3 separate regions of the Homo sapiens genome follow, and all the other regions are linked to region 1. The links are contacts of gene promoters, found by promoter capture Hi-C in blood cells and fetal thymus (Javierre and others, 2016). All regions are on one chromosome and are shown on one strand. Each heading gives the region's core, a stretch centred on a gene start or on the middle of the fragment in contact. The rest is flanking DNA. Distances are from core to core; before and after follow the strand shown.

What was found. The method cuts DNA at HindIII sites, captures the fragments that hold promoters and counts their contacts. A CHiCAGO score of 5 or more calls a contact.
Region 2: a fragment that was not itself captured here is called in contact with the fragment with the promoter of MYOM3 in region 1 in 1 of 17 cell types (M0 macrophages); the score reaches 6.0 in M0 macrophages.
Region 3: a fragment that was not itself captured here is called in contact with the fragment with the promoter of MYOM3 in region 1 in 1 of 17 cell types (M0 macrophages); the score reaches 5.6 in M0 macrophages.

What each region holds. Positions count from the first base shown.
Region 1 is chr1:24,110,633-24,113,960 of GRCh38, reverse strand. It overlaps MYOM3 (myomesin 3), which reads left to right and starts at 1,826. Exons shown (of 37, transcript NM_152372.4): 1 at 1,826-1,930. RefSeq lists an enhancer at 1,116-1,624. The HindIII fragment of the contact is 9,473 bases long and covers 1-3,328 here.
Region 2 is chr1:24,396,393-24,399,720 of GRCh38, reverse strand. The region is part of intron 2 of STPG1 (sperm tail PG-rich repeat containing 1); the gene reads left to right. Among named protein-coding and RNA genes, the nearest start is that of STPG1, 16 kb to the left of the region's middle. The HindIII fragment of the contact is 329 bases long and covers 1,459-1,787 here.
Region 3 is chr1:24,377,595-24,380,922 of GRCh38, reverse strand. It overlaps STPG1 (sperm tail PG-rich repeat containing 1), which reads left to right. Exons shown (of 9, transcript NM_001199013.2): 5 at 1,100-1,270. Among named protein-coding and RNA genes, the nearest start is that of STPG1, 35 kb to the left of the region's middle. The HindIII fragment of the contact is 1,067 bases long and covers 1,224-2,290 here.

The DNA of each region.
Region 1 (3,328 bases), core at 577-3,076:
CTTGTGCTCTCTCTCTCCTTCTCTCGAGTGAGGAGTCCCTGAGGCACCAGCAAGAGTGACAGGTGTAGTGTGGGTGGCCACCTGAGGTCGCAGGAAGGGGTGAGGGAGGGAAGCTGTGCTCTCTGGCTAGGGGCCGGTACAGCCTTCCCCTCACCGGCTCATCCTCTGAGACTCGACCCAGGTGCACCTTCCTGATCACCTCCTGTCGTAAGTGCCTGACTTCCCCTGTAGGTTAGGGTCTGGCATAGGGTAGGTGCCAATGAATGTGAGGGGGAAAGAATTGAGACTGAGGGAATGGCAGGAGAGGGCAAAGGGTGGGAAGAGGTGTGGTGCCGAACACCTATTAACCTCAGTAGGGAAGGCACCAGGTTTGAGAGGCCAAAGAAAAGATCCATAGCCAGCAAACGGAACATGGGGGTTTCAGGAGGCGGAGGTTGCAGTGAGCTGAGATCATGCCACTGCACTCCAGCCTGGACAACAAAGTGAGACTCTGACTCAAGAAGGAAAGAAAGAAGGAAAGAAGGAAAGAAAGAAAGAAAGAAAGAGAGAGAGAAGGAAGGAAGGAAGGAAGGAGGGGGGGAGGGAAAGAAGGAAAGAAGGAAGGAAGGAAGGAAAGAGAAAGAAGAAAGAAAGAAAGAAAGAAAGAAAGAAAGAAAGAAAGAAAGAAAGAAAGAAAGAAAGAAAGAAAGAAAGAAAGAAAAAGAAAGGGAGAGAAGGAAGGGAAGGAAGGAAAGGAAGGAACGTGGGGGTTTGTTAGGGGCTTGCCTACAGGAGAGAGAGTCCACTGGTGATGAACTGGACAGGAGAACCGCCTTACATACAGAAATGGTCCAGGGGCGGCGGGCTGGACAACATACCAGTGGCGGCCGACTGGGCAGGAAAACCTCAGCCCCTTGCAAACAGCATGCAGTTTATAGAGCATTTTCACTTTACACCATCCCCTAATGACCTCCACCTGGCAATCTTCATTTAACCCAAAACTCAGGGCCTCAATCCCCTGTATGGCCAGCGTTCCACCAGAAGGGACGGGACGGGGGCTCAGATATTCATCGTAGGTAAGAAACGGGTTGGCTACTCCCCAGATTCCTTAGCTCGGAACACATATTCAGGTCTTCCACACAGGGTCATTCTTGGAGCGTGCTTCAGTTATCCCTGTCAGGTGCGTTTACCCTATAAGAAGGCCCTTCAGGGGACACTCTGGCAGCCTGAGCAGTTTGCACAGTGAAGCAGTAGGTGGCTCCCCAGCTCCTCCTGCCTGCACCACACCACACACACATGACTGTGGTCAGGGCGGGGGCCGTGTAGTAACTACCGGAGTGGTGGAGGGACCAGGAGCCACACATTGCTGTTTTAGCCAGTGACAACTTCTGAGCACGAAACACTCACTTTTAGGTCATATTCCTTCCACCGTCTTCATGAAGTCCAGGTGCCCAGTCTCACTGTCTCCGTTTTTCAGAAGGCAGTCAGTTCAGGGAAGCTGAGCGCCTTCCCCAGGGCACCCAGTCAGCCGGGGCAGAATTCAGATCAGAACTCCCGACAGCTGAGAACGCCGCACGGGATCTGCCCTCCATACGACCATGCCTGAGCCGTTCCCTCCTTTCCATTTTAACAGGGGCTTGGGTTGGGCAGAAAGGACCCAGCTGAGAGGAGGAGCAGTGTGGGGGGACGCGGCGGACAGCTCCACCTGTCGCTGCTGCCCAGCAGGCTGGAGACACGGAATGGCCCCTCCCCTTGGCCCCCTGTCCCCGATGCCATAGTTCTCATCCATTGTCATTGTACTGTCTCAGTGCTGCTATATTTAAGACGGTGCAGTCTCCGGGATCGCATTCTTCTCCCGGTGCCCGCTGAGCCGAGGGCAAGAAGAGAACAAGGACCCTCTCGGCCTCAGGAATCTTCTCCCCAGAGACTCCTAAGTGGGCACACTGCTTCTGTGAGTCACCCCCAGAAATCAGGGTGGGGGAGGGATGCCTCCTAAGAGTCAGCCACTGGGGAGTGATATCTGTGGGTGCATGTGTGTGTGTGTGTGCACGTGTGTGTGTTTGTGTGTATGTGTGTTGTGTGTTGTGAAAGGAGCCTGGGAAATTTGTGCTGAGGCAGCACCCAAGTGAAAATGGGAGGGGATTCCAGAAACCCCTGCCCCATCCCACTGTTCTGTGTGGCCCTGGGTCTTCTGAGAGCTGAGCTGTCTGTGATGTGAAAGTTGCAAAAAAAAAAAAAAGAGTGGGGGCTGCCCTGGGAACTGGAGTCTTTCCTGTGATGGAGCAGCGATAAGCGGGAGCCAGGCTAAGCTGGCAAGTTCCACGAACTTAGAGCGGAGCTGGCTGAGCCCGGCTTGGCCAACCCCACAGGCAGGGAAAGAGAGCGAGCCCTCGGATCCCAAATCTTAGAGCTGGAAGGGATTTCATCCAGTGCCTGACAGGAAACCGAGGCCCAGACGGGAAAGGAGTTGCCTCAGCTCATGACTGGCAAGGGCAGGATTCGGCCTCGCGGAAGCTGGTGGAGCCACTGGCTAAGAACACGTCCCAGCCTGTGCCACCCGCCGCCCGCAGGATGTGTCTCTGCTCCCAGCCACCATCCGCCCCCATCGCAGCTCCTGGAGGGGTCTTGGCTCAACTGCTGTGCATTCCTCTTTCCCTCCTGAAGAAGGGGAGAGGCCTCCTCGGCAGATGGAGGCTTGGGAGGAAAGCAGAGGGGAATAGGGAAGGCCACGCAGTGGGACCTCTGGCCCAGATTTTTGCACCCCAAGAGAGGGAAGCGGGGGCAGTTTCCCCTCCACGCAGGCACACACAGTGTTCCGGGAAGAGGCACCCTGGTCCTTTGGGAAAGGGCAGTGAGGCCGCAAACTTGTCCCTGCTTAATACCACGCATCAGTCAGTGCTTTAAAAAGAATTGGTAGCTCATCCGCTAAAGCCAGGGGTCTGGTTGCTGGAGGCCCCGAGGTCAGGGACGAGCGCCAGGCCCCTGCCTGCTGTGCTAATCGGGAACAGAGCATCCAGGGGAAGGGAGCCAGTGGCTGGTGCCAGGGAATGTTAACTCTCAGCCACTGGAGCCAGGGCCATCGTGTCCCAGGAAAGCTGGGGCAGAGTGGGGGGTCCTTGCTCCACCTAGGGTGGTACCCAGCAGCTCTCCTCCTGGGCCATGAGGAAGAAAGAGCAGAATGAGCAGGGCTAGCCACTTCTTTGGGTGCAAAGAGAACTTCTTCCATCGGGAGGGAGTGATACGAAGCCAAAGAGGGTGACTGTCCCATTATGTCATTTGAGATGATTAGCAGGAGCCCAGGGAGCTTTAGGGGGCAGCCCTTGGTCCCAGCTAACCCTGCAGCCATCCA
Region 2 (3,328 bases), core at 374-2,873, 290 kb before region 1:
TTTTTTATTTATAGGAGTTCTTTAAACCATTCTGTCCTTTTCTTATTTATAGGGATTCTTTATTCTAGAAACAAGTCATTTGTTAGCTGTAGGTAAATGTCATCCCTTATCCTGGGACTTTCCTTTTCACTCTCTTAACAATGTGCTAAGACACAGAAACTCTTGATTTTAATATAGCCCAATTTATCAGTCTCTTTATGTTTAGTGTACATGTCTATTTTATTAATACTTAAGAAATCTTTGCCCATCCCAAGATAGTTTCTTCTAGAAACTCTATTATTTTACCTTTTACATCTAGATCTACAATTCACTTGAAATTGTTTTTGATTGAGGAAGATGCCCGAGTCTGTTGTTTTCCATGTTGACCCAGCACCATTTATTGAAAGGCTGCTCATTCTCTACTACTCTGTATTGCTGTTGCTACCTTTGTCATAAATCAAGTGTCCAGGCATATGCAGCTCTGCTTCTTGATTATTTATTCTGTTCAAATATCATACTGTCCTAATTACTGTAACTTTATAATAACTCTTTAGTAGCATAAGCCCTTCAACTTTGTACTTCTTTGTTTATGCTGGCTATTCTTGACCCCAGTGCATTTCCATATAAATTTATTTTACTTTTTTATTTTTAATTTTTATGGATACATAATAGTTGTACATATTTATGGTGCACACATGATATTTTGATACAAGAATATAATGTGCGATGATCAAATCTGGGTAGCTATACAAATTTTACAATCAGCTTATTAATGTCTTAAAAAAACTCTACTCTCATTTTAATTTGGATTGCATTGATTCTAGAAATCAATTTAAGGATAATTTACATCTTTACAATAAATATTAACTTCTCTAATCCATGTATAGATCCTTTTATTTAAGTTACCTTAAATTGTTCTCAATGTTTTGGAGTTTTCTATGTAGAAGTCTTGCATATCTTCATTATATCTATTGTAGGCATTTGATTTTTATGCTGTTATAAATGGTAATTTTAAATTTTATTTTAAATTGTTTGTTGCTGCTGTACAAAAAAATTAATTGATTTTTGTATATTGACCTTGATTCTGGTGACCTCACTAAATCCAACTATTACCTCTTATAGGGTGTCCACAGATTATTTTGCAATTTCCCCATACACAATCTTGTAATCTGTGAAAATGACAACTTTATTTCTTCCTTTCTCATCCATATATTTTATGTATTTTTAATATATTTTATGTAGGCGTTTGTATTGGCTAGAGACCTTCAGTACAACGTTGAATAGAAGGATAATAGCAGTTGTACTAGTTTCACTCCCTGTCTCAAGGGAAAGCCTTTAATATTTCACAATTTGGTATCCTGTTTGCTATAGGCTTTTGTTATAGACACCTTTTATCAGATTAACAAAGTTTGCTCCTATTCCTAGTTTGCTAGAGTTTTTCTTTTAATCATCAAAGGATATTAGATCTTATGAAAAGCTTTTTCTGTATCTACTAAACAGTTACTTCACCAAAAAAAAGATATACAGAGGGAAAATAGCATATGAAGGACTGCTTAGCATCATTAGTCATTAGGGAAATGCAAATTAAAACCATAATGAGATACCATTACATACCTAATGGGATGCCTGAGATTAAAAAGACTTCCCATTGCTGATAAGAATGTGAAGTCATAGAAATTTTCATACGCTAATAGTGGGGATGTGCAAAAGTACAACGACTATGAAAAATAGTTTGACAGTTTTTTAAAAAGTTAAACATATGATCTAGTCATTCCACTCCTAGGCATTTACCCCGCAAAATGAAAGCTTATGTCCATTTAAAGACTTGTAGATAAAATGCTCATAGCAGTTTTATTTGTAATGCCCCCAAACTGGCGACAACTCAAATTTACATCACCAGTGAATAAACATCATGTTTTTATACAATGGAATATTACTCAACAATAAAAAGCAATGGAGTATTGATATATCAGCAACAGAGATGAATCTCATAGTAATTATGCTGAGTGAAAGAAGCCAGACAAAAAGAGTACATGTTACAGGTATATGATTTTTTTAATCTGTTGAGATACTCGTATGGTTTTTCTTTTTTAGTCCGTTAATATGATGAATTATATTGATTTTTAAATATTAAACTATTTTTGCATTACTGGGGTTGGTCACGATGTATTATCTTTTTATATATTGTCTGGTTTGATTCGCTAAAATTTTTCTAAGGATTTATGTATTTATGTTTATGAGGGCTGCTGACCTCTAGTGATCTTTTTCCCTCTTGTAATGATGCCATATAGTTTTGGTATCAGGTAGTGGTTGCCTCATTGAATGAGTTTGGAAATGTCTTTTCCTCTTCAGTTTTCTGGGACAGCTTGTATGGAATTGATAGGTGGAGTGTTCTATAAATGCCAATTAGGTCAGGTTAGGTAATAGTTTTGTTCAGGTTTCATATATCTTTACTGATCTATCTACTTGTTTAAATTATCGAGGGAGATGTTTTGAGATCTCTGACTATAATTGTGAAATTTTCTATTTTTTCTCGCAGTTTTATCAGTTTCTGCTTCTTATATTTTCAATCTCTTTTTATTGGGTACATCAGCATTTAGGACTGTTATGTTCTCTTGAGGAGCTGACTGCTCATAATGACCCCATTATGAAATGACCCTCTTTATTGCAGGTAATATTTTTTGCTCTGAAATCTACTTTATCTGATAATATCTAACTATCTTTTGATTAGTGTTAGCATAGTAAATCTTTTTCCATTATTTTACTTTTAACTTATTTCTGAGTTTATATTTCAAGTATGTTTCTCCAAGGTAACATATAGTTGGGTCTTTCTTTCTTATCCAATCTGAGAATCTCTGTTTTTTAATTGGGATATTTAGATTATTTACATTTAATGTGATTATTGGTGTATAAGTTTAAGTCTATCATCTTGTGACTTGCTTTCTATTCGTCCCATCTGTTCTTTATTTACCTTTTCTCTGTCTCTTGTATTATTTTTAATGCTTCAATTTTATCTCCTTTGTTAGCCTATTAGGAATAACTCCTTGTAGTATTTTCCTAGTGGTTACCTTAAAGCAACAGTTGGCAAACTTTGCTCCTTGGACCAAATCTGACCCACTGCCTATTTCTATTAATAAAGTTTTATTGGAACACGGCCACCCCAGTTTGTTTATGTATTGTCTGTGGCTGCTTTTACTCCATAATGGCAGCACTGAATAGTTGCCACAGAGAATAAATAGACTGCAAAGACTAAAATATTTACTATCTAGCCAGGCATGGTGGCTCACACTTGCAATCCCAGAACTTTGGGAGGCTGAGGCAGGAGGATTGCTTAAGCCCAGGAGGTCAA
Region 3 (3,328 bases), core at 508-3,007, 270 kb before region 1:
AGCAAATCCTTACACACTGCATGTAGCCACTTCTTATTAGAATTCGAGTTTGGCAGAGTTGGATACTCAAGGAACAGATCAGCGTTGGAGTTAACTTCCCATTACTGAAGAGGCTGGGGTTGAGCTGGGGCTTGAACCCAGGTTAGGCTCTGAACAACTTAGGCTCTGGACAAGAACACTCCCGCTTCTGGTGCTACACCCCCCCAAATGCTAGTGGGGGTCCATAAACCAGACGCTGAGGACCGTCACCACCAAGCACAGAGTGAAGTAGGGGGGCCCTAATGCCTTCCTTTTGGCTCACCCACTTTCTGTGTTTGTGTAGTTATTGATTCCTATCAAGTGAGAAAATCCAGGGCAATGTTCTCAAGCTTTTGACCATTAAATAGTGGGAAATTTTTTGTTTTATCAGACTCCAATACTTGCCATGCTATCTTAGGGGAAAGTGATGTTATCACTGAGTTTCTGTGACTTTTGTCCCTGTTCTTTTGACAAACATTGATTCTGTTTGTTTTTTAACTGAAGATAATTTATCGTGGCTTCCTGAAAGGGTGGGATTGGTTCTGTTAAACCGTGAAAATACTGTAGGATTTGATGAAAACAGTAATTTGGTGGAGGGTAGGAGGCACAGATGGACAACAAGCCCCCTGGAGCTTTGTTTGAAGCAAACTCGTTGCTTAGGCAGTTCAGATCATTTAACCTTAGAAACAAGATGTGAGATTTTACTCAGAAGAAAAGCCTAGGCTGAGAAGAGCATCTAAAGCTTCCTATCACATAAATTACCCAACAGCTGATGAGTCAAGGGTAAGTGGCCTGGAACAGGATTGGGTGGAAATGCATTTATGGCAAAATCATTTTTGCCAAGTCCCAAACAGAAGATGAATAATTTGAGTTAGTTTACAGAAGCGAGTACAGGTCTGAACTTGCGTTTTCCAAGGGAAGATCCTCAAAGCCTGAGGTCAGTTTATCATTGTTACTGCCAGAGTTTCGCCTTTTATAAAATGCATTTAGACCTTGTGCTGGTCACCATCTTTTTGACATCTGTCCTTCAGATCCACAATATTATGTGACAATGCTGATTCCTTTGGTTGTCTCCTTACAGTGCGCCCGATTGGACACCATCATTTCTAAATACCCTGCAGCGAATGCATACACTATCCCATCGGATTTTATTTCCAAGAGAGACTTTAGTAATTCGTGTTCCAGCATGTTCCAGTTGCCAAGCTTTATGAAAGCTCTCAAGTTTGAAACTCCTGCACCAAACTATTACAATGTAAGAACTCTGCCTATGCTTGCTAAATACAGATCGAATTAATGGTTTACTAAAATAAAAGGAAGAGGGGATCTTGGGGACATCGTATTTTAATGCAGTTGTCAAGCCAGTTAGCATTTGTTGACTACCCAATGGGTGCCTAAGGCTGTACAAGACTCTTACAGGGAATTTGCAGACCCCAGAGATCAGGATGGGCAACATGGAGGCCAGTATCAAGCTGTGGGGAGGCCACTGCCCTGAGAAACACATATTCTAATTACTCTTGTCCTGTAACCTTTCTGGGACGTAGTTTTCTCATCTGTAACAATGGGTGTATTATTTACCACTTTGTCTGCAGCCACTAATGATTTACTTTTTAGGTTCTTCTAGGGAAAATAAACTTTCATATCAGAAAATAGGTGTTTTAACAGTCGTGCCCTGCTGTGCCAATTATGATCGCTTTGTATTCACTGACGCAGAATGGCATGGATGGTTAAGAGATGGACTCAGGAAGGTTTGGTTTAGCTCTCATCTGTTGCCACTTTCTAACTGTGCGGCCTTCGGCAAGTCCCTTAACCTTTCCAGGGCTTAGTTTACTGATCTGTAAAATGGTGATGTATGTTCACCTCATCGTGTTAATGCAAATATTAAATGAGATAATGTATGCTTCATGCCCAGGACAGCACCAGTCACACAAGGACCACACAATACATGGAGATTGGTAGGGCTGTCTTTGTTAGTACATGAAGGGTATTTACTTACCCTTAAATACAAGCAAGTAAGTAAGTCACAGCCCCCACTGTACAATGGAATCAATTCTACTTGCCCTACAGGGTTACCATAAGGCAACGAACGTGAAAGCACTCTGAAGTGCGCAAGATATGAATTGTACTTAAGACATTAATGTTATGCCATTTTCCAAACTATTTTGGTTTTATACATTTATTATACCATTTCCTTTTTTCCTTCATAATATTGATAATTAATAATTATTTTTCTGACTACAAAAATCCTGCCCACCTTCTATGATGGATTCAAGCTTTTTTTTGAGACGGAGTCTTGCTCTGTTGCCCAGGCTGGAGAGCAGTGGTGCAATCTGCAGGCTCCACCTCCTGGGTTCACACCATTCTCCTGCCTCAGCCTCCCAAGTTGCTGGGACTACAGGCACCCGCCACCACACCCGGCTAATTTTTTGTATTTTTAGTAGAGATGGGGTTTCACTGGGTTAGCCAGGATGGTCTCAATCTCCTGATCTCGTGATCCACCTGCCTCGGCCTCCCAAAGTGCTGGGATTACAGGCGGGAGCCACCGTGCCCGGCCTCATTTAAGATTTTCTAGTAGCCACATCTAAAAAGAAAAAGGGACAGATGAAGTTAATTTGAGTAATATAGTTTACCCAACAGATCCAAAATATTATCATTTCAACACTAATCAATATAAAAGTTATGAATTTTATATTTGAGGAAGACTATTTTCCTTGTAGTGAGTCTTTAAAATCCAGTATGTGTTTTATTCTTCCAGCACATTTTAATTTGGGCCAGCCACGTTTCCAGGGCCAATAGCCACATGCAACCTGTGGCTACTATACTGGGCAGTCCAACTCCAGGCAGTCTTCCCTCGGCATAATCAGAGCCTGAAAATGATGAGGAGGAGGAGGAGGAGGATGAAGCACTTCTCATGTACTAAGTGCTGGTCTAAGAGTTATGTATTAATCATATTTAATACTCACAAGTGAATCCATAAAGTGGATTATCTTGTTCCCAGTATAAAGAAGAGAAAGCTAAGGCTCAGAGAGGTGAAGGGACTTGCACAGTTACCCAGCTTGAAGGCATCATTTGCACTTCAGTGGGCACCAGTGGATGGCTGGGGTGGAAAGCTGGGGAATGATCAAAGTCACCTCATTCCAGCCCTGACAGGCTTCCCTCTGTGGATCCTGTTGCTCCTCTGTGCCAGGCTGGTGATACAGCTTAGATTCCAGTGGGGAATTCAGAAAAGAACAGGTAAACAAACAAAATAATTACAAACTGTGGTCAACTTTGAGGGACAGCTGGAGCTTGAGGGAGAATATGTGGGAGATAT